2 separate regions of the Homo sapiens genome follow, and region 1 is linked to region 2. Evidence: promoter capture Hi-C in human tissues and cell types (Jung and others, 2019). All regions are on one chromosome and are shown on one strand. The core of a region is centred on a gene start or on the middle of the fragment in contact, and the rest is flanking DNA. Distances in the headings are between cores, read along the strand shown. Region 1 has its middle 76 kb from the start of LINC02531. Region 2 holds the start of EPHA7 (EPH receptor A7).

The links. Contacts are between HindIII fragments. The study calls those that stand out against the background at their distance.
Region 1: a fragment that was not itself captured here is called in contact with the fragment with the promoter of EPHA7 in region 2 in 1 of the 25 tissues and cell types used here (mesenchymal stem cells).

Annotation. Positions count from the first base shown.
Region 1 is chr6:92,798,072-92,801,192 of GRCh38, reverse strand. No RefSeq gene overlaps it. Among named protein-coding and RNA genes, the nearest start is that of LINC02531, 76 kb to the right of the region's middle. The HindIII fragment of the contact is 3,748 bases long and covers 1-3,121 here.
Region 2 is chr6:93,417,856-93,421,102 of GRCh38, reverse strand. It overlaps EPHA7 (EPH receptor A7), which reads left to right and starts at 1,544. Exons shown (of 17, transcript NM_004440.4): 1 at 1,544-1,858. The coding sequence starts at 1,762. RefSeq lists a silencer at 1,297-1,496. The HindIII fragment of the contact is 11,378 bases long and covers 1-3,247 here.

The DNA of each region.
Region 1 (3,121 bases), core at 341-2,840, 620 kb after region 2:
ACTAGGGCTCTTACTGCCAAGATTTGGTTTAAAATGTGAATGCAGTTAACTCATGAGAAAATAAGAAACGGACTCAAAGGGACGTTGATAAATTAATTCTGCAAGCCTTGCTAGTCTGGAGTAGAGGGTAGAGTAGGGTGTTAAAATTGTACAATAAAAATAACAGAAATCACACAAAACAAACATTGCAAGGCTAGAGTTCCTTTGGCTAAAAGAACCCTTATATGAAGGGAAAGAAAACAAGTCACTCTCCCTACTGAGGGAAAACTTAAGAGATATTATTCTTGTAATGGACAGCAGATGATATGGATTAAAATGGCGTCCTAAAAAAAAAGACTGACACTAAGCAAATCAAGTCTGATTCAGTCAAACAAACCTTGTGGTTTTAGTCAGAAAGCAATGTGATGGTGGCTTCTGAAATAGAAGATCCCAAAACTGAGAATGTCAGTAATAATGACCTTGCTGCCCCGTAAAAAGTTTAGAATGAGCTGAAAACATTAAAGTTTTGTTTTTGAATTATAAGATACTGCCATGCTGCTTGCAACTGCAGTGAATTCAAAGCCTTGCTTACTGACTCAGAGCTACTCTCTCCCTTCATGTCCTCAGTTCCTCTTTACTCTTACACCTCAAAATTCCTTGCTGTAATGACAAAGATAATCAGGGATGAGACTAGGTCTGCCTGTTTACAAGGGTAACTGAATGCTATATACAGCAATCCAAGGATGTTGGGGGAGCTTCAAGAAGGAGAGAGGCAAACTTTGATGGCGCCATTGGACGGAACTGGCCAAGTCACAATCCTACATGTATGTGGAGGGAGGGGGTGCCCATATTCATCTGATGGGGTTTGAGGAAGTTTTGCAGTAGGAAAGGAAAGGACACTAACATGATATTGTGGGTAGGGCACTGCACTATTTTTGTTCCTTCTCCATTTGAATGTATAGTAAGAATTGACATGTTCATTCTTATATCATCCTGTGTCATAAATTCCTGGAATTCCTTTGATCAAGAAGAGTAACATTTGTGTTTTGTTTTGAGGGCCACAGTGTTCTCAAACATATTTGCATGCGTGTGTATGTGCGTGCATTCACACACACACACACACACACACACACACCTAGAACCCTCCTTCCTTACTGGCCTAAAAAGGAATGGAATACTTTAATCACTTATCATTGCCTTCAAGTTACGACCCTGGCATGCCTCAGATAAAATTGTCATGTATTATATAATATTACTCCTTGCACTATTTGTGGATAAAATCTTATGTACAGAAAATATAAGATACCCTTAAAAATTGAGTATTTAATATCTTAAGTGAAACTTTATGTTTAGTTACACCTTTGAAAGAGTGAAAGAAAATAAGCATGGAGGCACATTAGAAAAAGTGAAGTCCCAGGACATTTAAGCTTAATATGAGAGAATTATGCCTCTCTTTGGTTGTTGGCATGAAGAAGGAGGTTGGTAAATCAAGGATTAGGGAGTGCTCAAGACAAAATTTGCACTATATTAAAATTGTACTATGTGCATCTTTTAGAATAAAGTAAAAACTATCTCTAGGACTCCAACCCTGAATCCTACATGGCTAATATCCTCACAGATATTTGGTGGCATTAATTTGCATGAGTGGCTCTCAGTCCTAAGCATGAAGAGAGAGTTATTCCCTGCCTAAGCTTTATGAAAGGCTCGGGTATCTCTGCCTCATATGATAGGCAAAATTACCTTGAACAATATCCAAGGAGAATTCTGGGAAGATGGTGGAGTAGGAAGCACCAGCAATCAGTCTTTCTACCTCAATAGTAATTGCACTGGCCGTCTCTGACTCTTGTAACTGTTTTGGAAATCTGGAGTCTATTGAAGGCTTGCAACCCCCAGGGGAAGGCTTGATAGGTCAATTTTAGTTCTCAGCATAGTAGCAACCACTTATCCCTCATGTAGGGTAAGCAGGTGTGCATGCATTCCAGGAGCAGCTTGCATACAGTTAGTGGGAGCTAGGGTGGGCAAAAAGGACCCTGTTCTCCAAATATTAGGGAGCTGTGCTCTGATTGCTGATTGCTGCTTCTGATTACTGAGGTGCAGAAAAGGAGGTGGGTAGCCATTGTTCTTATACCTCCCTCATTGTTGCAAGCTGTCCACCCTATAGCTAAAGTGACTTCCAGGGGATTTAAAGGGTTGGCACCCATTCCTCCACTCTTTCATTTTTTCTCTTTTCCCTTTTTTGGGAGCCAGATATTTATGACTAGGACATTCACAAATAACAGCATATACAGGAAAATTAGAAAGTGACCATACTTGCCAGGGAAAGGCACAGACTCAGGAAACACCCGAGAAAACCTTAAGTTTACATCACAGGCTGATCCTTAGCACAGGGACAACCTACAACAATTTAAAAAGAATAAATAAAAACAACAAATAGCAAACTCTGGGGAAGGGAAAGAATATGATTTCCTGAATTGCCACATTATTAGATTCAAATGTCCAGTTCTTGCCAAAAAAAAAAAAAAAATCACAAGACACACAAAGAAACAGAAAAGTATGGCCCACTCAAAGAAAAAATAAACTATGGAAATTGTTCCTGAAAAGAACAGAAAGTATATCTACTAGATAAAGATTTCGAAGAACTGTCTTAAATATGCTCAAATAATTAAAGATGGGGAGAAAGCTAAGAAAACAATATATGAACAAAATGAAAATATCAATAAAGAGTTAGAAAACCTAGAAATGAACCAAAAAAATTATAGAACTGGAAAGTACAATAGTTAAAATGAAAAAAAAAATACTAGAAGGATTCAAAGGCAGATTTGAGTAGGGAGAAGAAGGAATCAGTGACCTTGAAGGTAGGACAATGGAAATTATCAAGTCTGAGAAACAGAAAGAAAAAAGTTTGAGGAAAAGTGAACTAAACCTAAGAAATCTGTGGGACACCATTAAGCAGAAATCAACATAAAATTGCAGGAGTCCCAAAGGAGAAGAGACAAAGTTCCAGAGAGAATATTTTAAAAAATAATAGCTAAACACTTTCTAAATTTGATGAAAGATATGAATATAAACATCCAAAGAGCTCAACAAACTGTAGGTAAAATGAACTCAAGGACATCTACATGGAGAAACATTATAATCAAAT
Region 2 (3,247 bases), core at 295-2,794:
TCAAAGAGGTTTAAAGAATAAATTTCATATCTCTCTTCCATGTTATTTTATTAGGCAAATAAAAACTACAGGAGACAATTTAACATAAAATACAAATAAATATCTGGGGGTTGTCATCTTAGAGAACTCCCTACTATAAAAAGCAGAAACAACTCAATTTACTTTATATTTCCAGATAGAAAGGTTGGAAAAAGTTTGGAGCCTTATGTGAGATCAAACTTTGGATCTATCGGAAATAAAAGGAAATCATAAATGACTGAGAAATATTTTTAAAGGAAGAAATTATAGGACAAAAAAAGAAATTCATCTTAAACATGTGATCAAGTTACTCTGTGTGACCTTTGAAATTGAAGATTTGGCAATTAAAATTTTAAAGTTCTTCCTCTTATTACCTACCTCTTGAATACAAAGTGTCCGAAACTGCCTAATGGAAAACAGATTTCTCTACGCAGCCTTCCTTGCCGTTCGGGTTGAATGAATTCAACTGGAGATATTGGTTATGACTTTTTTTATTCTTAGTTTCTCTTTGAAAGATAAGCATTGAATAATTCCTGAAAATGGTAAATACTTGCGAAGAGAAAGGTCTTGCTTTATGAATTTAATACGTAGTGGCATTCTTTAAAATTCAGTGTAATTTATGCAGCGAAATGGAAAACTATCAAAGTGGAGGCAATCCAAGGAAAACCTTAGAAAATGATAAACGCGTAAAAAAACGATACGCAACCATCAGAAGGTTCTCTCCTAATGTCTCACTTCGCTCAACAAACTATGGTGAAAAGACAGGGCGGAGGAGAAGGGGCGCTTAAAACAAAAGACTTCCTTTCCCACTCCCTTTTCCTCTGTTTCTTTTGCCAGAGCTTGTTGCAAACTCTTGGAAACATTGTTTAAACATAATACACTTGGTTACTTTATTCTTTCAGGGATTGTGGTGGGTGGTACCTAAAACTGACGGCTCTTGGAGTAACAGAAAAAGAGAAGTAGAAACTTTTCAAAAAGGCAAAAAACAAAGTTACCCAGCCCGCGGAGGTTCTAACAACAAAAAAGTAAAACACACTTTACTTAAAGGCACAGCTCATTTCACTGTCCGGGCTCCGTGCTTGGTAGCTGAGAGAAGGCTTGCTTCGCCTCTGGTTTCTAAAAGATCGCGCGGAGTACAGCTATAGAAAAGAGTGTAAGTTGGGAGCGTTATTCTCGGATTTATTCTGCTACGCGAAAGCTGCGGTTGCTAAAAGCAGAGCGTCCAAAGCAGCACACACCTCGGCTACCATCCTCGTTCTCCTCTGAACATCCAGCGCGAGCTCAGAACCTGGAGGGAATCCTGGACCAGCAACCTGACTCCGCTCGGCACCGATTGGCTCCTGCCTCGGACCCCGCCCCCGTGGCCGGGGCGGCCATTTCGCCGGGACCCGCCCCTTGGCCCTGGGAATCGCCTCCTGGCAGGCCGGCTGTGCCTGCCACTCAGCCCGAGTGGCGGAGGCTCTCAGCTCGGAGCCCCGCCCCCTCCCCCCCTAATTGATATTATTGGAGTGTGGAGCAAGCGGCCGGTCTGCAGTCGGAGACTTGCAGGCAGCAAACACGGTGCGAGCGAACAGGAGTGGGGGGGAAATTAAAAAAAGCTAAACGTGGAGCAGCCGATCGGGGACCGAGAAGGGGAATCGATGCAAGGAGCACAATAAAACAAAAGCTACTTCGGAACAAACAGCATTTAAAAATCCACGACTCAAGATAACTGAAACCTAAAATAAAACCTGCTCATGCACCATGGTTTTTCAAACTCGGTACCCTTCATGGATTATTTTATGCTACATCTGGCTGCTCCGCTTTGCACACACAGGGGAGGCGCAGGCTGCGAAGGAAGGTAAGGTGATGGGAAAGCAAAGTTTGTTCTGACTTATTTATTTAGATGTCTACCTGCACAAGCCAGCTCGTCCGCGGCGCTGCCGGCCGCGCCTCCGGCGCCGGGCGACCCTCCCCCGCCGGCTCCCCGCCCCCTCACCGCTGAGGCCGCTCCTGGCGGACCAGCGAGCGCGAACCAGGGCTGTTCCGAGCCGCCTACAGCCCTGTGCCCGGAGCCGTCCATCCGACGGGTGCGGGATTTCTGGCGCGGGCAGTCTGGAGGGCGTGAGCAGCAACGGGGGTGGGGTGGGGTTGGAGGAACTGCCGGCGAGCTTATTTCTTAGTACCTCAGGCGGGTCACATCTCTCTCTAGCTCGGTCTTCCTTGTCTCCTTATTCGCCTTCTGTGGGAGCTGCGGCCAGAGTTGGGTTGGAGACTGGGAAATGCAGCCCCTACCGTCTCCGCCAGCCCGCCGGCGAGTGGCGGGAGCCCGGAGCCTTCCCAGAGGGACCGAGACTTCGATGAGCTCGGAAAGCTCGGGTTACTAATGAAGTGCTCACTGCGTCGGAGGCGGCGGCGCGGTCCTGCGGTTGGCGCTCGGCCGCCAGCACGGAACAATAACGCCGCGGAGGTGAAGCGCGGCGTGCGGCGCGCGACCCGAGGGCCGGGGATGTCTCCATTCAGCGCGCGCTGCGCGTCGGGCCCAGCGGTCATGGGGGCAGCGGCAGCCCAGCGGGCTTGGTCGGGCCGTGGAGGCAGGGGGCGGGCTGGAGCTGTGCAATTTGTAAGGATGCCGCCTGGGCGACTCAAAGTCCCCAATTATTTGCCCCATAGTGCAGCAATTGAGGAATCCGAGTGCCCAATCCTTGCCAAAGACCTGAACCCTGAGGGTTGGTTCTGGTAGGAGAAGGCAGGTTTTATTTGGCAAGCTGTTACAGATACGCCTGTATATGGTTATGTTTTCCTTCTTTGAACCTTTGACAGAAGGTAAAATACCTTTCGGTGCCTGTAGTTGGAGCTGGGGAAAAATAAACCCTGTCAATGGAAGTCTCTTGCTTTTGAGCAGTGTCACAATCCCATCCCCAACCCCCCTCATCCCGTCGCCCCCCTGGTCTTTCAGGCTGTGTATCTAAGTTTCATTTTTCGATCTGTTAAAAGCAGAAGAGAAATAATTACTTATTCCTGATGTGTAGAGGGAGAGGAATCTGTTATGAAATTTAGGTCATGGTGGTTATCGGGCGGGGTGTTGAGGGGACTTACATATAGGTCCTTGATTCATCTATTTCTGAAAACTTAGTGCACCTTTTCTTTATTCTCATCGTGCACTCCTCTTAGTTCGCTCAAGCCCCCCTCAAACCCGGCGCCAAATTCTAGTCCTTCTTTCAGCCTGACCTTCTGACCCCACTTTCCA